Linked DNA regions of Homo sapiens: regions 1, 2, 3, 4, 6 and 7 are each linked to region 5. The links are contacts of gene promoters, found by promoter capture Hi-C in human tissues and cell types (Jung and others, 2019). All regions are on one chromosome and are shown on one strand. The core of a region is centred on a gene start or on the middle of the fragment in contact, and the rest is flanking DNA. Distances in the headings are between cores, read along the strand shown.

Region 1 (3,625 bases), core at 1,070-3,569, 1.8 Mb before region 5:
TCCCAAAGTGCTGGGATTGCAGGCATGAGCCACTGCACCTAGAAAAGGAAATACTTATAAATAAATAAATTTAACAAAATAAGTGCAAGACTTGTATTATACAATGAAAACTACAAAATATTGCTGAGAGAAATTAAAGAAGATCTAAATCAGATCTAAATCCCCAGGGGTGATTCCTACTAGGGAACACTTGGCACTGTGTGGACAGATTTTTGGTTGCCACAACTTGGAGAGGATGTTGCTCCTAATGGGTAGCGGCCAGGGATGCTGCGAAATATCTTACAATGCATAGGACAGCCCCCATAACTAAAAATTATCTGGGCTCAGTAGTGCCAAGGCTGAAAAATTCCCATCTAAATAAATGAAGAGGCGTTTCATGCTATGGATTGGAACAGTCAATATTGTCATGATGGCAATTCTCCTAAAATTAATCCAACAATTCAACAGTTCAACATAATCCCTGTCAAAATCCCAGCAGGATTTTTTTTTTTTTTGGGGGGGATGGAGTCTCGGTCTGTTGCCCAGGCTGGAGTGCAGTGGCGGATCTCGGTTCACTGCAACCTCTGCCTCCTAGGTTCAAGCGATTCTCCTGCCTCTGCCTCCTGAGTGGCTGGGATTACAGGCGCGTGCCACCATGCCCAGCTAATTTTTTTATTATTAGTAGAGATGGGGTTTGACCATGTTGGTCAGGCTGGTCTCAAACTCCTGACCTCATCATCTGCCTGCCTCGGCCTCCCAAAGTGCTGGGATTACAGGCGTGAGCCACTGTGTCCTGCCTAAATTTTTAACAAGAGCAAAGTAAGAGGACTTACACTATCAGATTGCTCCCCTCGTCTCCCCTCCCTGCATTGCTCCCCTCCTCTCTCCTTCCCTCCTCTCCCCTCCCCCCAAATAACTGGGACTCCTAGCAGAAGGGTTACCCCAGTTAAAACCTACTCAACCCAGAAGAATGAGACAAACCAAGGGAGATGCCAATGAAAAACGAGTGACTATCAGGCCTGGAGATGGCAGCCAGCCACTCATACCCCAATGGCAGGCCAACCTGGAAAACTGTCCCCTGTAGGGTTTCCAAGGATGACATCTTGTCCTCCCCCTTGGGTTGGTCCCACTCTTGAAACAACATAAAAACTTAGAACCTAAAGAATACCCTCATACCTTCCCCTACCTTTTCTTCTTTTCTTTTCGAGACAGGGTCTCGCTCTGTCACCCAGGCTGGAGTGCAGTGGCGTGATCACAGCTCACTGCAGCCTCGACCTCCTGGGCTCAGGCAATCCTCTCACCCCAGCCTCTCGAGTAGCTGAGACTACAGGTGTGCGCCACCACACTCAGCTAATTTTTAATTTTTTTGCAGAGACGGGGTCTTCCTATGTTGCCCAGGCTGAGAAATTGTTTGTGATTATGGGTTATGCACAGATTTCTCAGCCGCAACACCAAAAGCATGATCCATAAAAAAAGGTGATAAGGAACTTAACAAACTTTAAAAGGTCTGCACCTCAAAACACATCATTAAGAAAATAATTAGTTAGGCCAGGCGCGGTGACTCACGCCTGTGATCCCAACACTTTGGGAGGCCGAGGCAGGCGGATCACCTGAGGTTGGGAGTTTGAGGCCAGCCTGGCCAGCGTGGTGAAACCCCATCTCTACTAATAATACAAAAAGTAGCCGGGCGTGGTGGCACGCGCCTGTAATCCCAGCTACTCGGGAGGCTGAGGCAAGACACTCGCTTGAACCTGGGAGGCGGAGGTTGCAGTGAGCCGAGATCGCGTCACTTCGCTCCAACCTGGGCGACAGAGCAAGACTCCGTCTCAGAAAAAAATAAAGAAAGAAAGAAAAAGAAAGAAATAGCCGGGCGTGTTGTCGCGCGCCTGTAGTCCCAGCTACTCTGGAGGCTGAGGTGGGAGGATCGCTGGAGCCCAGAAATTTGAGGCTGCAGTGAGCTGAGATCGTTCAATTGCCCAGGAATTTGAGGCTGTAGTGAGCAGAGATCGTTCAATTGCACTCCATTGCTGCCCACTGCGCTCCACTGTTGCCCAGGCTGTCCTAGAACTCCTGGCCTCAAGCGATTCTCCCGCGTCAGCTTCCTAAAGAGCTGGGATTACAGGCGCGAGCCACCGCGTAAATGCGCTAATGTATGTCAGGGCTTTATAGTAAGCATATAGTTTAGTCCTCGGCAAATGTTAGCAGACATGGGATATTTGTCGGTGCCGGGAGCTCTCAGTCCGGGGCGTTTTCCCACACCCACCTCTGCTCAGCGCTCCGGACGCCTGCAGTCACTATGGTAACGGCCAACGACTTCCGGAAGAAGAACGGCGGGCGGCGAGGGTCATTCCCAGCCGCAAACTGAGTGCGCTGAGCGGGGAAGCGCAAAGGGGCAAGTTACCCGTCCTGGCGTTTCTGGGGTTCGCCTCGGAGGCTAGCCTCGGTGCTCTCGCAGGCTCGCTCGCTTCTGCATCCCCGTTGCCGCCCGGAGCCAACTCTTAAGTTCTGGACGCCAGGCCTGAGGCAGTTCCGCCATGGACTTCTCCAAGTTCCTGGCAGACGACTTCGACGTGAAGGAGTGGATCAATGCGGCCTTCAGGGCCGGCTCCAAGGAGGCGGCGTCCGGGAAGGCGGATGGCCACGCAGCCACCCTGGTGATGAAGCTGCAGCTGTTCATCCAAGAGGTGAACCACGCCGTGGAGGGTGAGCCGCTCGGGGCCCTGGCCGCGGGACCCTCCCCTGCTCTCGGCTGGGCAGAGGTCACCGAACTTGCGTGAGGCACTCAGGTGGGCGGGGCACGCATGGACAGCAAATACCCTCGGCAAAAGAGCAAGCCCCGAACTCCTGATCACGTCAGCGGGAGTCTCAGCTGGGTGCCGGGCTGTCTTGAACACTTGCTAATTTTGGGTGTTGTTTTTCCTCCTCTGGCTGGGCTATAAGTTTCCTTTTTCTTTTCTTTCTTTCTCTTTGTTTTTTCTTTTGAAACAGGGTCTCTCTACAGTGGCTCGATCATAGCTCACTGCAGCCTCGAACTCCTGCACTCAAGCGATCCTCTCGCCTCTCGAGTCGCTAGGACTACAGGCGCGAGCCACCGCGCCCCACAAATTCTGTTTAAAAAAAAAATTGTAGAGATGGGATCTCACTGTGTTGCCAGGCTGGTCTCAAATTCAAATTCCTGGGCATAATGGGTTTTCCAGTCTTGGCCTCCCAAAGTACTGTGATTATACCTGTGAGCCACCACATCTGGCCTGAAGTTTCCTTTTGGAACTTAAAAGAGTGGATCTTATTGCAGTAGCTCTTCTCTAAATAATTCAATAGCAGATCTCTGGGATTCCCTTTTTATTATTATCCATAGGCACTGGAAGACAAGATGGATCTTTTTAAATGCTAGAAGTTTTAACCAGTTCTTAACATGTCTTTGTTGAGGCACCTTCCAGAATATAAGATAAAACAACTCCAGTTTCTGTTATAGTGACTTGAATCTCAGAGTCAAGAGCCCAGTGTCAAAGAAAATTGGCTTTGACTTTTTGTAATCTAGGAGCACGAGTCTGTGAGGTGTTTATTCAAAGAGTTAAAGAGCCTGTTTTGTACCAAACAATAAACTGTAAAAAGAAAAAAAAAGTGAATTTTGAGAGTATGAAAGAAT
Region 2 (3,781 bases), core at 81-2,580, 1.3 Mb before region 5:
GAGACCTTAAGGGATGTGGGAGGAAGCACTGAAGTCTCTTTCCCAGGAGCATCTCATTCAGGCCTTGATGGACGGGAGCATCCCTGGTTCCCAACCGCTACTTCTTGATGAAGGTCATAGTTGACCCTTACGTGCATTTTTCTTAATCCTGGCTGCGCGTTAGAACTACCCGAGAAGTCCCTTCCTTCCTTCCGCCCTCCCTCCCTCCCTCCCTCCCTCCCTCCCTCCCTTCCTTCCTTCCTTCCTTCCTTCCTTTCTTTCTTCTCTTTCTTTCTTTCTTTTTTAAATAAACATGTCTGGGCTCTGTCCTAGAACAACTGATTCAAAATATTCAGGGAAGGGATATACTTCTATAAAGTTCCTCAGCTCATTCTAATGGGAAGGCAGAGTTGAGAAACACCTTTCCCAATCCTAATGAGGTAGGAGGCGGGTCTAGACTCCGGAGGCAGGGCTTGCTTGGACACAGGACCAAATTGAGGACTAGCTAAAACAGGGCGGGGAAGAAGCAGCTTTCCACAAGACACGCCCACCTGTGTGCCCTGTCAGCTTACCATTGCCATGGCAACGCCCCGAGGTGACCATCCCTTTCTATGGCAACAACCTGATGACTTGGAAGCTACCACCCTTTTTGTAGGGTGGTAAATTTCTGCATAATCTGCCCCTTAATTTGCATGTAATTAGAAGTGGGTATAAATATGACTGCAGAGCTGCCTCCGAGCTGCTACACTGGATACACTGCCTATACAACACCCCTGTAGGGTAGCCCTTCTCTGCAGGGAGCAGTGCCTCTGCTTCTGCTGTACACTGCTGCTTCAATAAAAGTTGCTTGTCTAACAACACCGGCTTGCCCTTGAATTGTTTCCTGGGCAAAGCCAAGAACTCCCCAAGGCTCGCCTGCCCTGCATCACTAACACTATGATTTACCAACCCCCAGAACATTCATTCTCACATCCTTTGGAATATCAACTCCTGGTTCTTAGCTTTCTGCTTCCTGGCTCCTATCACTATCTCCACCCAATACCCTGGCCTCGCAGTTCTTTGACCTTTGACACTCCAAGTATTTCCATTTTCTCTTCCCTTCACCAACTCTTTTTCATGGCCATACGTTGGGTCATGTCATTGCAATTTCCCTAACTCTGAAATGGTTAACTCAGAAATTTCACTCTAAAACTATGTAGAGGTTTGAATGGTGACCTTCCAAAAGATATGTCCGCCCAGAACCTTTGTTCTGTTTTGGGGTTTTTTGTGTGTGTGCGTGACAGAGTCTTATGCTGTCGCCCAGGCTGGAGTACAGTGGTGCCATCAGGGCTCACTGCTGCCTCAAACTCCCCTGGCTTAGGTGATCCTCCCACCTCAGAACTCCCAGGTAGCTTGGACTACAGGCACTCACCACCACTCCTAGCTATTTTTTGTATTTTTTGTAGAGACAGGGTTTCACCATGTTGCCTAGGCTGGTCTTGAACTCCTGGGCTCAAGAGATCTACCTGCCTTGGCCTCCCAAAGTGCTGGGATTACGGTGTAGCCACCACACCCAGCCCACCCAGAACATTTGAACGTGACCTTATTTGGCAAAAGGGTCTTTGCAGATGTAATTAAGTTAAGGACTTGCATATGAGATCATCCCGGATTAGAGTGGGCCATAAACCCAATGACGAGTGTCCTTGTTAGAGAAGGGAAGAAGAGTCACACAGGAAATACGGTGACCTGAAGATGAAGGCAGAGTGTGAAGTAAGATGTCTACAAGACGTGAACACCTAGGATTGCCACCAGCAGCCACCGGAAGCTAGGAGAGAGGCACAGGGCAGATTCTTCTCAGAGCAGTCAGAAGGAACCAACCCTGCTAACAATTTGGTCTCAGACTTCTATCCTCTAGAACTGTGAAATAATGCATTTTGGTTGTTTTAAGCCACCTAGTTTGCAGTAATTTGTTATGGTAGCCACAGGAAACTACAGATTACAACCTTGTCCCTTTCTACCTTTTCCACAGTCTCAAACTTCTTATACCCATTTTCAAATTCATCTGGGATTCTCTTGATTTCACTTTATTCCATACCTTCTCTGTACCCAATGAACAATCATTTCAATAGCATCATCTTCATCCTCATCAATTTTCCTGTTCTAATTGCTCTCCCCAGTCTCTAATAATGCATCCTTCCAGCCTTTTATCCTTTCCAGTTCTGTCCCTGGGTTGCCAAACAGCACTGGAGAAAATTGCTGTCACTTACAAATATATCCTTAATATGTTCATGGATTCTAGCTTCCATTGAACCCTCAGTACTGCTCAGTGATCTTATATTTGTCTTTTCAGGCCCTTTCCATCATTTTTCATAGTAAATGTTTCAAATTCTCATCATACACTCCCAGCCTGAATCCTTTCATCCACCCTTAACATGCAGCTAGTCACCCATGACACTAGAAAGGCATAAGCTTTCAACCTAACACCTCAACTCCTTCAACCTGCCTCTCCTCCATCTTAAAGCTAATCCTTATGTGCAACCATCCTGAGCCCCTCCTGCTAGTCTCCGAGAACAAGGTATGCAAGGGCTCACCCATCCACCTGTGCTTAGATCCCTTCCCCTTCTACCTTTCCTGCAAACCCACCCATTGGCGCCTTGAACCTTCTAATTCATTGCTAGACTGATACAACTGATCTTTTTCTTCTAGGCCCAAAGTCTATGTAGACCCTTTTTGGTTGAAAGTTGAAATCGTATTTATTAGTATTGAGTAGGACAATTAATAGCATTTGTTAGTATTGAGTAGACAATTAAAAAACAATTTTTAAAAAATTGAGTAGAACTAATTAAAAAAAGTAGTATTGAGTACATTGTTTGCATTATGTGCAAACAATCACAAGGGCACTTGAATAGAATTCTTTGGCTGGATTTTCTTAGAAATCTGGATATATTAGATCGTGACTGTGGCATATATGGTAATCAGGTGTTGGCCTGTATGACAGGAATAGATGAAATTACATAAGTGTAACAGCGCATTTAAACTGTGTTTAAAGACTTCCCAAATTCTACAGGGGCTGTTGCAATAAATGTCTTCCCTGGCACAAGGAAATTGACTTGACTTGCCATTAAACAGATTCCTTTGCAATATCCTTCAATACACTAAAGAATATCCAAGAAAGGAATTGAGGACAGATTTTCTAAGCTTACTTGACTATAGAGCTGTGAAGCACCAATTAACATCTCTTTTTGTTACCAGTTTGGAAAATGCTGACCAAATCCAGTGATCTCCAAAGTATCACATTATTCCCCCATCTGTGCACTAAAGTGAAGCTCCACCCTTCTAACTTCTTTTTTCCTTTTCTTTTCTTTCTTTTTTTTTTTTTTTTTGAGATGGAGTTTTGCTCTTGTTGCCCAGGTTGGAGTGCAATGGCACAATCTCAGCTCACTGCAACCTCTGCCTCCCAGGTTCAAGCAATTCTCCTGTCTCAGCCTCCCAAGTAGCTGGGATTACAGGCATGTGCCACCACGCCCAGCTAATTTTTTGTATTTAGTAGACAGGGTTTCACCAGGTTGGTCAGGCTGGTCTCGAACTCCTGACCTAGGTGATCCGCACACCTTGGCTTCTCAAAGTGCTAGGATTACAGGCATGAGCCTCCGCACTCGGCCCACCCTTCTAATTTCTAATTGGTGTTATCAGTTGCAAAACCAAATGGCAAATACTAAAGAAGATATAAGAATCAGGTTGCAAACATGCTGTAGTCATGCCACAAGTCAAAGGGCTCCTGGGTACTTCAAATTTTCTCTATCCCACCAAAAAACACCCTTGA
Region 3 (3,356 bases), core at 59-2,558, 1.1 Mb before region 5:
CAGGGCAGACACTAAGATCCCCACCTCACAACTAAGAAGAATCTCAGGGAAGTTTCACGACGTTATAATTGAGGCTAAAATCCAGATTATTGGGCTTCTAGTCACCAGCAACAATATTGATTGGGCATCTACCCAATCATGCAAGGCACTGTTCTCGACTGTAGGGATACACTGGTGAACAAAACAAAGTCAATGATCTCATGGACTTGCCGTCTAGTGTGGCGAAACAAACAAACAAATAAACATAGAAAGTAAGCCAGATGGTGATGGCCAAGGAGGGGAAATATGTTGCTTTATATTGGATTAGGACATGCTTCACTGATGAGGTAATATTTGAAGGATGGTGCATTTATTGATCACAGTATAGGAGCCCTAGAGGGTCAATGGGAAGGTTTGGGAGAATGTGAGGGATCAGTAGGGGTCAGTAGCGGATGCACAGAAAGGTATGGAGCTGGGAACATCTTTCATGATTCCACACTTGCATGTCCAATTACTTCCTTGGCCTCACTGAAGTTTCAGTCTCTCAAACTGGTTCAGAACCAGTCCATTGATCTTCAACCCTAAATTTATGCCTTCACTAGTCCTTCTCACTTCCGTAAGTTGCAACACCAGCTTCCCAGTACTCACAATTAAAACCTGAAGGCTTCTCTGAGTCCTTCACTACCCCAGCCCACCTCCAAGGCAACTTATCCACAATTCCTATTATGCAGTCTTCCTGGAAAAGAGGTCTCATATCCAACTACTTCTTTTTCTTGACAATCACTGCACCAGTCCAGGCCTTCATCATTTCTTACCTGGTGGGTGCAAAACCCCCTCATTCATATGCCCACTCCTACACTTAGCCTTCTAGTCTGTTCTTTACCCAGCAAGCTAGATTAATATTTTTAAAACATCCATTGAATCACATCACTCCTTTGCTTAAAATCCATAGAAAAAATTCCAGACGCTTACTGCGGGCTTCAAAGTCCTACATGCTGAGGTCTTTTCACTTGGATATCTTTGCAATCCTGTTTCTCCTGACAAGAGGATCTCTGAAATGCTTTTCTGTTTTCTTCATACCCGAATACCAACTTGGATGCATATCGAGTTACAATCTTCTTTTCTCAAAGTTGTAGAGGCATCACTTCAGTCTGTGACAGTGTTTGTCGCTGAAGCAGAAAGGTCTGAGCCTGCCAGATTCTTTTTTTAAATATATATTTTGTTTTGTTTTCCTTTTGTGTTTGTGTTTGTTTTCAAAGGTAACTGTTTTCTTGCTTGAATGCCTGCGGCATAATTTTTATCTTCAAAATGTAAAAAAACACTTTTAGATTGTGTCTAATGGTAGGTCCCATTTCATTACTTTTTTTTCTGAGAAAATAATGAAGCATTTTATTAGCCAACAGGAGAGTTTTTGCTGCTTGCGTCTTTTATAATTTTATATTCACTTGCCTGTCATTTCCCTGCCATCTTTTACATTTCACTTCCTCTGGCGATGGTGTTTCCACACTGAGGAAGAACACTTAAATCTCATGAATCTAACAGAGTCACGGCCAATCCAGTAGCTGCTTCCCACAACAATCACGAGACCCCTTACGAGTGCCCAGCATGACTTCCCTTCTGGGGTTGTTGTAACAGAAGCATAAAATGTCCATTCAGAGAAACACACAGCCTTATCTGCAAGGAACAGAGGAGCTGAAGGGATACAGTCTGGAAATGACTAATAAGATTAGAGGCAATATTCTGGCCTTGATGTTTTGTCAGGTTCTAAGTAGAATAGATCAAAGTGTGTCTTTATTTCCACAGTCCAAAAAAAAGCCCTCAGGCCAAAAAATGTCACTGCTAATTCAGTTTTCTTTTTCTAATGTGTATGTCACTCAGCACCTTTTGATATTGTAGCCATCTACCTGCTGCTGTATTTTTTAATCCTATTAGAACTGAACTTCATGGCCAGTTGCTTCGGTCTTTGAGAAACACAAATGAGACCCAATGGACTACTCTGTGCTCAACAGGGATTTCAGTTATGAAGTCTAGAATCACAGGGCTCCTATAAGCCTAAGGAAGAAAAACAGCCATTCACCATTCTTTCCCAAATGTCTGTCTTTTCCCTTCCCAACCTGTTTTCTAAATCATAAGAAGAACTTGGGGGTGGGATAAGTGGCATTTCCAGTTTGACTTAATCACAAAAGTTAATTCCACAGGGCAAAATCAGAGTTAATTCAGCAGTGGCCTGAATTTAAGCAGAGTCATGGTTGAAATAGTACAGAGCACTTTAAGGTCGGTGAAAAAAAATCATTAAACATATAAAGCTTCCAGAATTTGTAATCCAAATCTATAAACAGATTTCCATACACTGATGCAGAGAAAACGCAATTATCATTCATCACAGGTCTTTATTGTCAGAGCATCTGAGCTGAGTCCAGTCCGGCAACAGAATTCATGTTTCTCCACCACGCCCCAACTAAAGCCCAAAGTGACAGCGACGTGAGACAGACACTGAATAATTCAGGCCCTAAATTGCCCCCCTGAGCTCCCTCTCCATGTGTATAGTTCTCTGTAGATCTGGATGATTCTACGCACATCTATGGGTTTGAATCAGGAAATTACCTCTATTGATTTCGTCGGAGTGTGTGATATAAATTTACATTCTGTCTGCCTGGCCTCAAGCTTAAATGCCAGCAAGCATCCCTTTCCAAATGGCCGAGTCCACACTGGCCATTCGGCTTGAGATGGGAGCCTCTCCTGGGTAGGGGATGCTCGGAAGGTATTTTTATAGTGATCATTTAAATTCTGACGTTTTTATTTGTGAACAATTTCAAACATAAAGTAAATAAGATTATAGCCATCTGTGTACCTAGCACTCAAATTGTACCAGTGTTCACATTTTCCCTTATCTGATTCAGATTTGTTTACATCTATAATGTTACAGGTAAAGCACAAGTCACCCCAGGCACATACTCCGCCCTAGTCTCCTCCCGACCTTCCGCCTCAGATGTAAGCATAACCCTGAAGTTGGTGTGGATCTTTCCCGTGAATATCTCAGTATTTTTACCACAAATATATACGCATCTTTAAAATTTAGAGACATGCTGGCCGGGCGCGGTGGCTCACGCTTGTAATCCCAGCACTGTGGGAGGCCGAGGTGGGTGGATCATGAGGTCAGGAGTTCGAGACCAGCCTGGCCAACACAGTGAAAACCCGTCTCTACTAAAAATACAAAAATTATCTGGGCGTGTTGGTGGGCGCCTGTAATCCCAGCTACTCGGGAGGCTGAGGCAGGAGAATCGCTTGAGCCTGGGAGGCGGAGGTTGCAGTGAGCCGAGGTTGTGCCACTGTACTCCAGTCTGGGTGACAGAGCTAGACTCCATCTCAAAAAAAAA
Region 4 (3,278 bases), core at 287-2,786, 1.4 Mb before region 5:
TACACATCTATTGGCACAGTAAAAATAAAAAAATAGAGATAATGCCAAATGCTGGTGAGGATGTGGAGGACTGGGATCAATCAATCATTGCTGGTGGCAATGTAAAATATAACAGCCATTCTGAAAAAGATATGGCAGTTTCTTACGAAATTAAATATATGTTTGCCATAACGACCCAGCAATTATACTTTTGGGCATTTGTCCCAGAGAAATGAAAACTTACATTCACACGAAAGCCTGTACATGAACGTTCATAGCAGCTTTATTCATAACAGCCAATAATTGGAAACAATCCAAATGTCCTTCAAAAAGCAAACAGTTAAACAGTGGAACATCCATACTATGAATTACTAGTCAGCAATAAAAAGGAACAAGCTATTGATACATGCAACCATTTGGATGGATCTCAAGGGAATTATGCTGAGTGAAAGAAAAAGCCAGGCCTGAAAGGTTACCTACTGTATGATTCCATTTCTATAGCATTCTTGAAATTACAAAATTATAAATGAAGACCAGATTAATGATCGCTGCAGATCAGAGAGTAGGGGAGGGAGGCAGGTAGATGTTGCAATAAAAGGACAGCACAACAGACCTCTTGGTGGTAGATCTTGACTGTGGCGGTGGCCACACAAATCTGTGCACATGATGAAACTACATAGAACTAAACACACAAACAAGCTCACATGAGTGCATGTAAAGCTGGCAAAATCTAAGATTGGTGGATGGTATCAATGTCAATTTCCTGGTTGTGATATTGTACTACATGTATGCAAGATGTTACTATGGGGAAAGTTGAGTAAAGTGCTCTGTGATCTCTATTATTACTTTTTCTTTCTTTCATTCTTTGACAGAGTCTCACTCTGTTGCCCAGTCCGGAGTGCAGTGGTGCGATCTCGGCTCACTGTAACCTCCGCTTCCCATGTTCAAGCAATTCTTCTGCCTCAGCCACTTGAGTAGCTGGGATTACAGGTGCATGCCAACACTCCCAGCTAATTTTTGTATTTTTAGTAGAGATGGGGTTTCGCCACATTGGCCAGGCTAGTCTCGAACTCCTGACCTCAAGTGATCCACCTGCCTCGACCTCCCAAAGTGCCTGGATTACAGGCATGAGCCACTGTGCCTGGTCTGTGATCTCTAGCATTTCTTAAAACTGCATGTGAATCAACAATTGTCTTAAAATAAAAATGTGTGTGTGTGTGTGTGTGTGTGTATGTGTGTGTGTGTGTTTTGGAATGTCAGTGAGGGAAGTGGATGGAGAGGATGCAGAGGGGAAAAGGTAAGGACTTGCCCAAGTTCACACTGGGTGATGGAGCTACATACTCAGGCTCATAACCTCTGCTTTGAGCCACCACCCCATCTGACAGAAAACTGTTATGACCTTCACTTCTGGAATTTCCCCTTCCTCTTTCCAAACAAGCCAAGATTACAAGGCCCATGCTCTTACTCACACCCAGGGTAGGGTGTGTGAGTTCTGTACCCATCAGTACCACAGATAGGAGGGGTCCAAGAAGGCTGGGAGCCACATCAGGTCTGAGTCCTTTTAGAGGAATTAACATAGACATTGAGAGACAGATGCTGTAGCTCTGAAAGGACCATTGAAACTGAATTTTCCAAGTGCCATTTTCCCCACCACGTAGAAGTAGTGTGCCTGAGAATAAATTAAACACAGAAAATCAGAGGCCGCAGATGGAGGAAGAGAGGCAGAAATCTGATGATGAAACATGAGCATCGACATCTCCTTGTCTGGGTCTTTTTTCTATATCACCTACCTGTATTTATATCCAAAGCATCCACTTCTGGACTTCTTAGGTATATCTCTGCCTCCTGGGTTCAAGCGATTCTCTTGAATCGCTTGGTATTTCCCAGCCTTCTGACTAGCTGGGACTACAGGTGCATGCCACCACATCTGGCTAACTTTTGTATTTTTAGTAGAGTTGGGATTCACCATGTTGGCCAGGGTTGTCTTGAACTCCTGACCTCAGGTGATCCACTTGCCTTGGCCTCTCAAAGTGCTGGGATTACAAGCTTGAGCCACCACGCCTGGCCCACCTTGCTTGCTATTATGCCTCCTAGCACTCTGCCCACCAGTCCAAGCTCTGCTCAACAACGGGAGTCATTAGTGAATCTATGACCCTGGAATGCCAAGACCTGGCCAGCTCCCCAGATATTTGAGGATTCCAATCTGGCATTCCCTCTTCAGAGACCCTCTGTGGGGTGCCCTGAGCTCTGTCTGGGGAGAGGGAAAGGGAGGGCATGTCCTGACGTGGGAGTAGCTCCCCTGGGCTGAGGAGTAGCAAGGCACTGATTTACAGACTTCTTTTTTTTTTTCTTGGAGTCTATTTCCCACTTCAGTTGTCAGCCCATCTCCAACATGATTTAAATTGGGAATCTGAATATGTAGATTTTCAACAAGGTTCTGACACTGGCTGTGGGACAGGAGGAAGTCACCTAATCACCAGTGTCCTCACCTGATGCCTGGGATTTGACTCCCACTGATGAAGGCTCACTGTGGGAGCCTGGTGGCCTCTGCCACTAATGACTGGATGAAAACAAAGCTTGAAAGTCATAGTGCTTCACTAAGGTCTTCGTGGAATGTTTAAGGGCATGGCTGGGTTCTGGGAGATGCTCTGCAGGTTGAGGAAGAGGGAAGCACAGGGCTTGGTGAGCTTTGAGTAGGTAAGCACCAAAAGGTACACTCAGAGGGATCCATACTTGCACCTACCTGTACAGTGGCTGTTCTCTTCCCTCTTGTTGATCTTACTAAGGAGGACAACCTTGAAGTCCCCTCCCCAAATCATCATCCCCTGATTCCATGTTTAGATGACTATGTCAGGGGTAGACGTGTGCTTGGTCAGGAGATAAGTCCCATCTTACCCCACTTCACCACTTCTCTCTTCCTCCCTTCATCCTATCCCATCCCATCTCCCTCCTCTCTCCCCCTGTTGGCCACCCCCATCCCTCCCACTTCAACTCAAGCTCCTCTCACTCCTCTCTTCCACTTCCCCTCTGCTCCATTCATTTCTTTTCCATGTCACTGCATTCCGCTCACCTCCCAGCAGCACAGACTCAGAGCAAGACAGGAGTCTTTTGGGATGTCTTGAGCCTGGGCTCTTACAGATTACAAGGCCCATGCTCTTACAGTCAGGGTGGGGCATGTGAGTGCTGAACCCATCAGTCCCACAAGACTGAGGAGGGGTCCAGAAGGGCTGGAAGCCATGTCGGGTCTGAGTCTTTTTATAGGAATTAACACAGACATTGGGAAAGAGAGAGACCCTTTA
Region 5 (3,580 bases), core at 866-3,365:
TCATGAAGGATTTTAATTTAGAAAAGCAGATCATTGGGGAGTTTTTCTAGGGAAGTTGACTCATTCTTTGCCTTTTCAGAACAATTTCATAAACATTAAGCTCCAGGACCAGAGAGAGATGGAACAGTAGGATGGATACACCGTCCAGCATTTCTTGGACTAGAGATGAAGCCTCTATCAGTCATTTCCAAACCTATGAGCAGGAGATGCCTGGGGGACAAGGGGACTAGGGAAGGTCCTCAAATTCACATACAAACCTGGCACTGACTACAGACACACACACAGAGATGACAGTATATTTAACTTTGGGGGTACTTTTTAGGTGCTATGGTGATACAAAAACTACATACATCTGTTGAAGTGTTAAAACCAGATTGAGGCCGGGCGTGGTGGCACATGCCTGTAATCCCAGCACTTTGGGAGGCCGAGGTGGGCGGATCACGAGGTCAGGAGATCAAGACCATCCTGACTAACACAGTGAAACCCCGTCTCTACTAAAAAAAATACAAAAAAATTAGCTGGGCATGGCAACATGCACCTGTAGTCCCAGCTACTTGGGAGGCTGAGGCAGGAGAATGGTGTGAACCCGGGAGGCGGAGCTTGCAGCGAGCCAAGATCGTGCCACTGCACTCCAGCCTGGGCGACAGAGCGAGACTCTGTCTCAAAAAAAAAAAAAAAAAAAAAAACAAAACAGACTGAGAATAACTTTCTGTTAATGAGAAAATATATCATGAGCAGATGCCAAGGGCACAGACATCATATCATGGTGGGGAGATTTTTCATAATTTTCAGTGGTGCAGATGACGCTCTTCCCATGTCTGGGGAATTGCCTGCCCAGAGTCTGGGAGAGACACAAGGCCTGGGAGCCGCTTTCCTGGCCTGCCGTGCAGCTGAGGCACTGGCACGCAGCCTAAGCCAGGCACACTTGCCCATGCCCTGGAATGGAGAGCCAGTGACCCAGAGTAGTGGGGATGTGAGCTTCTCCTTCTCTGGGGGTGGAGCAATGGCAGTGAGACCAAGGGGCTGGGGCAGTGGTTGAGCGATGCTGACAACAGGGCTGATGGCACCTAGTGTTTGGCAGTGGCAGTAGCATCCTCTTCAGACCTGTTTATGGTGTGATTTGAGGCATTCTTCCTGGCTGTGGACCCCACACAAGATTCACTAGCCCTCCCAGTGACTCTAGGATCTACCTTCAAATGTTTGCATAAATTTCCTTTTAAGTCAGCCTGAGTCTGTTTCTGCTGCTTTACAAAGAAGACCCTTACTGAATCACCACTAAGTGCTGGGGGAGAGGACACAGAGGACAGAGGGCCCACATATTTGTTTCTCAACACATTAAAAGGGGGTCTTTGGGCCAGGCATGGTGGCTCACACCTGTAATCCTAACACTTTGGGAGGCCAAGGCAGGGGGATCGCTTGAGGGCAGGACTAGCCTAGACAACACAGAATCTACAAAAAAAAAAAAAAATTAGCCAGGGGTGGTGGTGCATGCCTGTAGTCCCAGCTACTCAGGAAGCTGAGGCTGCAATGACCTGCAATCTTGCCACTGCATTCCAGCCTGGGTGATAGAGACCCTGTCAAAAAAGGGGGGAAGGCAGGTGTCTTTGGATTCAAAACTGGAGTACAAAAAGTTAATAACAGACAATTTATTTATTCGCTGCATTAGAATGTGTTGTTTACTAACTTTTCTCATCTCTACACAAAGCCACTTCTCCTTCTGCTGTTCTTTGTTCCCAGCAGTTACTGGCCCAGAGTGGCACCCAGAGCAGGTACCCTAGACAGTGACTGAACTGTTCTGAAAAATCCAAGTACGAATTATTTGTCAAACAATACTCCTTCCTGGAAATATGTGCTAGGTGTAAATCAAAATCTCACCCAGAAACATCTAACACCTATGACAACTGTAAAATCCATGGAAAAAAAAAAGATATGCACATTTCTAAATGTGCTCCAGGCCAAAATCTCAATGTTAAATGGTGAAGCCATCCTTGCACAATTTCAAAAAGTTCCTGATTATGGTTCCTTCATAAGAGGTTCCTCTCTTCAGCTCTTCTTCCCTTCTGAAAAAAGAAAGCCAACTTTCCTTTCAAATACACACCCCAACCCGCCCCGGCATACACAGAAATGGGGACTGCGAGCAGAAGCAACATCGCTCGCCATCTGCAAACCAATCTCATTCTATTTTGTGTCGGTAAGGTTCTTTTTCTTCTCCTCCTTCATTTTATTTAAATCAACTGCTATTTTTCACCTAATGCATTTATATTTTAAGCTCCTTCAGATTAATTTTTAAATGTATAACATTATGAAAACTGCCTAAGAGGATAAGTTTCCTTTTTCCCCTGAGAAATAGACAATAAAAAAATAGCTGAGAAAAAGTTTCATATTAACCTTGAAAAGTCTCTTTGCTATTATGCTAATTGGAGACAATCTGACCAAAGGGTTGAAAATATTCTTAAAATCGTAGGTATAAGTTATCAATAATTTAATTATCATACAAACTTGATCTGCACATAGAAAGCAATAAATGATTATTTGCTGAATATTTTCAAAGAACAATTTCTATAAAAGTACTTTTCATTTAAGAAAAAAAAAACTGCCATGACTCCAATAGCCATCCCATAGTATATCTATTTTTAAAATTCTGTCTACTTCTGTTTTTTTATCTATGAAAGAGAAAGGATTTCCAATACATCTAGTAATCTCAGATTTGCCCACACAATTTGGATTATAGGGCAGGGAAGGGGGGAAAGTTCTTAATTTTTTCTCATCTGTGAAGAAATATATCAAAATGTTAATGGGAGTTATTTCAGGCAAAAGGACTATGGGTGACTTTTTGCTTCTACTTTTAATAACCTGTTTTTTGCTAATAAGTATATATTACTTTCATAGACTATTTTAATTAGCATTATTTTAAAGAAGAATTCCTGTCTTTTAGAGATATATTCTGAAAGATGCAGATAAAATGGCTGGGATTTGCTCTAAAATAATATGGGAGTGAGGGAGTAGGTGGGAGGAGAAAAGAAACAAGATTGGGTCGAAGCCATGTGATGGCAGGGGGTTGACTGTACTACTTCGCTACTTTGATATGTTAGAAATTTGAAATCTAATATAATAAAGCTTTGGGCTGGGCGTGGTGGTTCATGCCTGTAATCCCAGCACTTTGGGGGCCAAGGTGAGAGGATCACTTGAGCTCAGGAGTTCAAGACCAGCATGAACAACATAATGAGACCCCCATTTCTACACAAGAAAAAAAAATAGCTGGGCGTGATGGCACCTGCACTGCACCTGCAGTCCCACCCACCTGGGAGGCTGAGGCAGGAGGATCACTTGAGCCCAGGACTTTCAGGCTATAGGGAGCTGTGATTGTGCCACTGCACTCCAGCCTGGGCAACAGAGCAAGACATTTACTTACTTCTTACTTACTAGATAGAGAGACAGCTTTGTTTAAATGTCAAGAATTAGTTCTCTTCCTACTTTCAATATGGCTTTTTTGTTTGTTTGAGACGGAGTCTCGCTCTGTCACCCAGGCTGGAGTGCAGTGGCAAGATCTCGGCTCACTGCAAGCTCCGCCTCCCGGGTT
Region 6 (3,520 bases), core at 404-2,903, 1.4 Mb before region 5:
CTTTTTACTCTTTTTTCTCTAACCTTGTGTTCTTGCTTTATTTCATTAATTTGAGCTTCAGTCACTGATACCCTTTCTTCCACTTGATCGAATTGGCTATTGAAGCTTGTGCGTGCATCACAAAGTCCTCATGCCATGGTCTGCAGCTCCATCAGGTCATTTAAGCTCTTCTCTTCACTGTTTATTCTAGTTAGCCATTTGTCTAACCTTTTTTTCAAGGTTTTTAGCTTCCTTGCGATGGGTTTGAACATGCTCCTTTAGCTCAGAGAACCAACCTTCTGAAGCCTACTTCTGTCAACTCATCAAAGTCATTCTCCATCCAGCTTTGTTCCATTGCTGGCGAGGAACTGCGATCCTTGGAGGAGAAGAGGTGCTCTGGTTTTTAGAATTTTCAGCCTTTCTGCTCTGGTTTCTCCCCATCTTTGTGGTTTTATCTACCTTTGATCTTTGATGTTGGTAACCTACAGATGGGGTTTTGGTGTAGATGTCATTTTTGTTGATGTTGGTGCTATTCCTTTCTTTTTGTTAGTTTTCCTTCTAATGATCAGGTCCCTCAGCTACAGGTCTGTTGGAGTTTGCTGGAGGTCCACTCCAGACCCTGTTTGCCTGGGTATCACCAGTAGAGGCTGCAGAACAGCAAATATTGCTGCCTGATCCTTTCTCTGGAAGCTTCGTCCCAGACAGGCACCCGCCTGTATGAGGTGTCTGTCGGTTCCTACTGGGAGGTGTCTCCCAGTTAGGCTACATGGGAGTCAGGGACCCACTTGAGGAGGCAGTCTGTCCATTCTCAGAGCTCAAATGCCATGCTGGGAGAACCACTGCTCTCTTCAAAGCTGTCAGACAAGGACCTTTAAGTCTGCAGAAGCTGTCTGCTGCCTTTTGTTCAGCTATGCCCTGCCCACAGAGGTGGAGTCTATAGAGGCAGCAGGCCTTGCTGAGCTGTGAGGGGCTCTGCCCAGTTTGAGCTTCCTGGCTGCTTTGTTTACCTACTCAAGCCTCAGCAATGGTGGATGCCCCTCCCCCAGCCAGGCTGCCACCTCGCAGTTTGTTCTCAGACTGCTGCGCTAGCAGTGAGCAAGACTCCGTGGGCATGGGACCCACCGAGCCAGGCATGGGAGAGAATCTCCTTGTCTGCCGGTTGCTGAGACCTTGGGAAAAGCACAGTATTTGGGCAGAAGTGTCCTGTTTTTCCAGGTACAGTCTGTCACAGCTTCCCTTGGCTAGGAAAGGGAAATCCCCCGACCCCTTGAGCTTCCCGGGTGAGGCGACACCCCACTCTGCTTCAGCTCACCCTCCGTGGGCAGTACCCACTGTCCAACCGTCCCAATGAGATGAACCAGGTACCTCAGTTGGAAACGCAGAAATCACCCATCTTCTGCATCGATCATGCTGGGAGCTGCAGACCAGAGCTGTTCCTGTTCGGCCATCTTGGAACGGATCCACTTCATTCCTTTTTAATGGCCGAACAGTATTCCATACATACATATGCATGTACCACATTTTGTTTATCCACTAATCTATTGATGGGCATTTGTTTTTTTCCTACCTTTTGTCTATTATGAATAGTCCTACTATGAGCATTTGTGTACAAGTATTTGTTTGAATACCTGTTTTCAGTTCTTTTGGGTATGTACCTAGGAATGGAATTGATGGATCATATCATAATTCTATGGTTGTCTTCTTGGGAATTGCCAAACTGTTTTCCACAGGAGCTGGATCATTTTACGTTTCCACCAGCAATAGATGAGAGTTCTAATTTCTCCACATCTTTGCCAACATTTATTTTTCATCTTTTTGATTTTAGCCATCCTGGTGAATGTGAAGTGTTACTTCATTGAGGTTTTGACTTGCATTTCTCTAATAGTAAATGATGATGAACATCTTGCCATGTGCTTGTTTGGCCATTTATATATTCTCTTTGGAGAAATGTCTATTCAAGCCTTTTTCCCATTTTAAATTGCATTATCTTTTTGTTGAGTTGTTTTTGTTGAGTTGTAAGAATTCTTTGTAAGGATGTATAATACTAGACCCTTATGGGATATATGACTTGCAAGTATTTTATTCCATTCTCTGGGTTTTTTCTCTTTCTTGATAGTGTTCTTTGACGTACAAAAGTTCTTCATTTTGATGAAGTCTGTTTTTTCTTTTGTTGCTCATAATTTTGTCGTCATATCTAAGAATCCGTCACCACATCCAAGGTCATAAAGATTTACTCTTGTGTTTTCTTCTGAGTTTTGTAGTTTTAGCTCTTACATTTAGGTTGTTGATACATTTTAAGTTAACCTTTATAAATTGTATGAGGTAGGGACCAAACTCCATTCTGGGACAAGTAAATATTTACTTGTCCCAGCACCATTTGATGAAGAGATTGTACTGTCCTCATTGAATGGTCTTGGTGCTCTTGTTGAAAGTCCTTATTTTAATTCCTCTTTTACTTTACCCTCTACTTCCAGAGGCCTCTGGCACCTCCAGTTTCTGATTCTTTCGGTGATCCTGTATATTGGGTTGGCCAGCTTTCTCCAATGCCAGCTTACAATTCAGTTTTCTCTGGTCTACTCATATTTACAATATTTTCTAGATAGTCTATTATTTCACTTATTCTTCTTTGACCCAGGTGCTTGTTTGTGTTTCTTTTCCAGTTGTTACGTTTCCCTGTATGTGTTTTTGTTTGGATTGTTTCTAGTTTTATTGCATTACAGTAAAAAATACCTAAATTATCTTGTCCAGAGAGCCTTTCCTCACTCCCTTTACCTGCAGGCTGGCTGGCGAACTCCTGCTCTTCTGGGCAGTTAACTTCTGTTAATCTCTCACACCAGCGTGTTATGTGGAAATGATTTGTTTTCTTCTCTGTCCTTCCCACCACACTGTGAAGTTCTCTGGAGCTGGGGCCACATTTTGCTTTATCTTGTTATACCCAGCAGTGCAATATAGTTCTTAATATGCAGCAAGAGCCCAGGTAATGTTTGTTCAACTGAAAGTTTCTCAAAATCCTGTTCCCACCCCAGTTGCTTAGGGTTAACACTAAGCTTCTATTTATAAGTGAATTTGGTGAATCCAAAGGTTATTGTATTCTAGCCAGAGACTGCCTTATTGAGTCTGCGTTAGCCTCTATCCTAAGGCCTTAACAGATGTTTTATTCAATATATAATGAGGCTACTGCTTTCCCCACATTACTGGTGAGGAAGCTGAGACTTGGAGATGAAGTAACCACTCCCAGCTCACACAGCTGGCAGTAAATGGGTCCACAGTTTGAACACAGAGCTTGATTTCTGTGCAGTTGACAATGTGGCATCCCCTTATCTCGTCAGGAGTCCACATCTATTCTAGGAGAACAGATCTTCCCACCCTTACCTCTGCCAAGAACCTGGGAAACGAGTTTATTGTCTCAACTTCAGATATCTATTATTTTTATTTTCTCATACCAGAGTTTAAAATGGTTAGGAAGTAAGATCTACTCCTGTTCCTTTTGTGATTTCTTTATGGTGTTTAAGCTTAAAAAGTTTTCTTCCCTCTAGTGGCT
Region 7 (3,298 bases), core at 616-3,115, 1.1 Mb before region 5:
GCAGTTAGCAAAAACTGGGCATGAATTCTGGGCAGGCAGGAGCAACAGAAGTCCACTACAAGCTCTGGCTCTTCCTCCAGGTTTTATAACATCCACTTTGTTTGTGAGCCAGGACACTAGGAGTGCTGGCCAGTGTTTGGTGACAGACGGAGCATCCAAAAGCTTCTTGAACAATTGGAATCATGGCACAAAGCTAGCAAGATGAAATTCAATACAGATTAATGGGAAGGACTATATTTGAGCCCAAAGGAAATAACAGGTGGTAGAGGATAAGGTAGGAGTGTTGACACTTAGTGATGGCTTGTGTAGAAAAGACTATAAGCTTGAAACAAGTCGACAGTGGGAGAAGATGGCCAAGGAGGGCAGATTGATGCTGGAATGGCCAACGAGGGCAGATTGATGCTGGAATGGCCAACGAGGGTGGATTGATGCTGGACCAAAGAAAGGGTTAGGGAACTGCTGCAGTTTGGATGTTTGGACCCGCCAAATCTCAGGGTGAAGTTTTATTTCCAATGTTGGAGGCAGGAGGTGTTTGGGTCATGGGGACAGATCCCTCATGAATAGTTGAATGGCCTCCATGCAGGGCAGGAGGGGTGTGAGTTTTTGCTCTATTAGTTCCCATGAGAGCTGGTTATTTAAAAAAGAGCCTGGACCCTCCCTCCCCTCTCTCTTGCCTCCTCTCTCACCATGTGGTCCCTGCACACACCAGTTCCCTTTCCCTTGAACCATGAGTGGAAGCAGTCCGAGGCTCTCACCAGAAGCAAATGCTGGCATCATGCTTCTTGTACGTGCTTCTTGTGCCATCAGCCAAATAAACCTTTTTCTTTTCTTTCTTTCTTTCTTTTTTTTTTTTTTTGAGATGGAGTCTCACTCTGTCGCCCAGGCTGGAGTTCAGTGGCACGATCTCGGCTCAATTCAAGCTCCGCCTCCTGGGTTCACGCCATTCTCCTGCCTCAGCCTCCCGAGCAGCTGGGACTACGGGCACCCGCCACCACGCCCGGCTAATTTTTTTGTATTTTTAGTAGAGACGGGGTTTCACCATGTTAGCCAGGATGGCCTGGATCTCCTGACCTCGTGATCCGCCCGCCTCGGCCTCCCAAAGTGCTGGGATTACAGGTGTGAGCCACGGTGCCCGGCTAAACCTCTTTTCTTTATCAATTACCCAGGCTCTGGGATTCCTGTACAGCAACACAAAAGGACTAAGGCAGAAACAGTGCTCTCCTCTTGAGCACTACCTTTAGTTCTGTGTGGCTCACTTGGAATAATAATCGCCCAAGATGGATTGAGAACCTACTGTACACCAGGCACTGTGCTACATGCTTTACCCGGATTGTCTCAGCAAATCAACACAAGCACACAGTGTTATTATTGCCATCTTACAGGTGACATATGTGAAGCAAAGAGAGGTTACATAACTTGCCCAAGGTCAGACGGCTTTGATGAAGCCAGCTTTGCACCCAGGCAAACTACCCCAGTCATAATCACTAGCTAGGCTGGCTTTCGGGAGGTGGGACTAGGACGCTCTGTTTTCACGTGGGAGGCAGAAGGAAAGAGTACTTACTTTGTGCTACAAACTTAGAGCTTTAATGAGCACTAACTTAGGCCTTCCTGGAAGATAAGTATTTGATTCCTCATTTTAAACATGAGGCTTCCTAGGAAAAAAACTAGGGCATCTTTGGATCAGTAGCTGAAGTAATTGGTGCAGTTTCACCTAAATGAAACAGAATTTAGGACACATTTGGGAGTGGGGCAAATATGTGAAGGTTGTTAGGATTAAATTTGTTTTGTTTAGTTTCAGGAGGATGGAGTTAGGACAACAGATAGAATTTATAGCAACATAACCTTGTCTCAAAGTTATAAAGGTTTTTCTGATATGGATTACCAATTCTTGTAATCATATTAAATATAATAATACAAATACTATACCATTTACTGAGCACTCATTATGTGCTAACAATGTCACATCATGATATATAAAGCCAGTTTAGTAATAAAATCACAATAACAGTTGTAACTAAGTATTTATGCCAATCACTGTGCAACAACTTTAAATGGTAGATGCTATTATCTTTATTTTATAAATGATAAAACAAAGCACAGAGAAGCTGAGTAAATACACTCAAGGTCACACAGCTAGCAAGAGATCGAATCTGTACGTGAATTCAAACTTCCTGACTCTAGACCAGAGTTCCTAACAAGCATGGCTTCACTGTTCCCCCAAGGAAAGCGGTGAGGAATGGTGGACGGATTGTTGGGAAACACTAGAGTTCCAGCAGCATCCAATGTGGGATTGCCCTGGTGGAAATCTAAGGCTTCTCCCACACTGGGAATCTAAAGACCAGGAGCAGCGACCTGGGCGAGTGAGAACAGATGAACTTACACCAATGGGCTGTGCAGGGATTCTTCCCCCAGGCCCCTGGGTCCAGGCTCCGACGCTGTGTGCACAAAAGCTCCAGCCCTGCTGAGACCAGTGTGCACGTGTTTTATTAAAAGGAAGTGTTTACCCGGCCTACTCCTGGCAGGGCTGCGGCAGCAGTTTATTAGGACTTCATTTGGAGTGTAAATTGATGCCGGTTTATAAAAAGGCTCTGCAGAGCAGCTCCTTCGGGATGGCCCCAATCCGCAGCACTGGGCAGGCGAGGCTTTAACTAAATCATTGATTTCCCTCCGGAAGGAGCAGCCCAGAGATGAGCACTCATTTTGCTGCTTAGCTGCTGTCTCCTCGGCACCTGGAGGGCAAAGGTGGCAAGATTCCCCCTTACCTCCTGTCTCCATCTCTGTACACACACACACACACACACACACACCGCTAATTTCTCTGAGTGCCTATACCATTCTGGTGCATTGACTCTAGAAGGCCAGTAAGGTCTGAAGATTACCCGGCTCCAAGGGGCATTTGAAAGCATGCTGCCTGTTGGTTGTGTGGGTGTTTTAGGTACAGTGTGTGGTGGGGATGGCAAGCCTCATCTCCAGCGTGAAACAGCTTTGGGTTCAAAGGTGACCTTGGACATGGGTTGCCAGATTCAGCAACTAAAAATACAGAATACACAGTTAAATTTGAATTTCTGATAAACAATGAATAATTTTTCGGTATAAGTATGGGACAAGTTTAATTGAAATTTGAATTTCATCTGGCAGCACTACCGTGGGCAGGGGATGGTTCTTTAAGCCTTAGTTTCCTCATCTGTAGAATCTCATGCAAGATAATGTCTGTAAAGTACTTAACACAATGTCTAGCATGTTGTCAGTGCTCGACAAATGTTATCTGCTATGTTATTATTAGTTATATTTTTATATA

What was found. Contacts are between HindIII fragments. The study calls those that stand out against the background at their distance.
Region 1: the fragment with the promoter of COG7 here is called in contact with the fragment with the promoter of IGSF6 in region 5 in 1 of the 25 tissues and cell types used here (small bowel).
Region 2: a contact is called between a fragment that was not itself captured here and the fragment with the promoter of IGSF6 in region 5, in 2 of the 25 tissues and cell types used here (dorsolateral prefrontal cortex and lymphoblastoid cells).
Region 3: a contact is called between a fragment that was not itself captured here and the fragment with the promoter of IGSF6 in region 5, in 1 of the 25 tissues and cell types used here (dorsolateral prefrontal cortex).
Region 4: a fragment that was not itself captured here is called in contact with the fragment with the promoter of IGSF6 in region 5 in 1 of the 25 tissues and cell types used here (dorsolateral prefrontal cortex).
Region 6: a fragment that was not itself captured here is called in contact with the fragment with the promoter of IGSF6 in region 5 in 1 of the 25 tissues and cell types used here (lymphoblastoid cells).
Region 7: a fragment that was not itself captured here is called in contact with the fragment with the promoter of IGSF6 in region 5 in 2 of the 25 tissues and cell types used here (H1 embryonic stem cells and lymphoblastoid cells).

What each region holds. Positions count from the first base shown.
Region 1 is chr16:23,451,883-23,455,507 of GRCh38, reverse strand. COG7 (component of oligomeric golgi complex 7) reads left to right here and starts at 2,319. Exons shown (of 17, transcript NM_153603.4): 1 at 2,319-2,682. The coding sequence starts at 2,514. LOC124903667 (a long non-coding RNA gene) reads right to left here and starts at 2,765. Exons shown (of 2, transcript XR_007065030.1): 1 at 2,243-2,765; 2 at 1-38. RefSeq lists enhancers at 1,990-2,039, 2,330-2,659. The HindIII fragment of the contact is 22,477 bases long and covers 1-3,625 here.
Region 2 is chr16:22,909,598-22,913,378 of GRCh38, reverse strand. The region is part of intron 1 of HS3ST2 (heparan sulfate-glucosamine 3-sulfotransferase 2); the gene reads right to left. Among named protein-coding and RNA genes, the nearest start is that of HS3ST2, 97 kb to the right of the region's middle. The HindIII fragment of the contact is 4,508 bases long and covers 1-3,584 here.
Region 3 is chr16:22,780,782-22,784,137 of GRCh38, reverse strand. No RefSeq gene overlaps it. Among named protein-coding and RNA genes, the nearest start is that of HS3ST2, 32 kb to the left of the region's middle. The HindIII fragment of the contact is 5,109 bases long and covers 1-3,356 here.
Region 4 is chr16:23,021,333-23,024,610 of GRCh38, reverse strand. LOC112268176 (a long non-coding RNA gene) reads right to left here. Exons shown (of 2, transcript XR_002957913.2): 2 at 248-1,648. Among named protein-coding and RNA genes, the nearest start is that of USP31, 130 kb to the left of the region's middle. The HindIII fragment of the contact is 4,514 bases long and covers 1-3,278 here.
Region 5 is chr16:21,651,143-21,654,722 of GRCh38, reverse strand. IGSF6 (immunoglobulin superfamily member 6) reads left to right here and starts at 2,115. Exons shown (of 6, transcript NM_005849.4): 1 at 2,115-2,191. The coding sequence starts at 2,125. All of the region lies in intron 4 of METTL9 (methyltransferase 9, His-X-His N1(pi)-histidine), which reads right to left. The HindIII fragment of the contact is 6,081 bases long and covers 1-3,580 here.
Region 6 is chr16:23,091,792-23,095,311 of GRCh38, reverse strand. The region is part of intron 6 of USP31 (ubiquitin specific peptidase 31); the gene reads left to right. Among named protein-coding and RNA genes, the nearest start is that of USP31, 56 kb to the left of the region's middle. RefSeq lists an enhancer at 1,170-1,716. The HindIII fragment of the contact is 3,212 bases long and covers 48-3,259 here.
Region 7 is chr16:22,733,786-22,737,083 of GRCh38, reverse strand. No RefSeq gene overlaps it. Among named protein-coding and RNA genes, the nearest start is that of HS3ST2, 79 kb to the left of the region's middle. The HindIII fragment of the contact is 3,246 bases long and covers 243-3,298 here.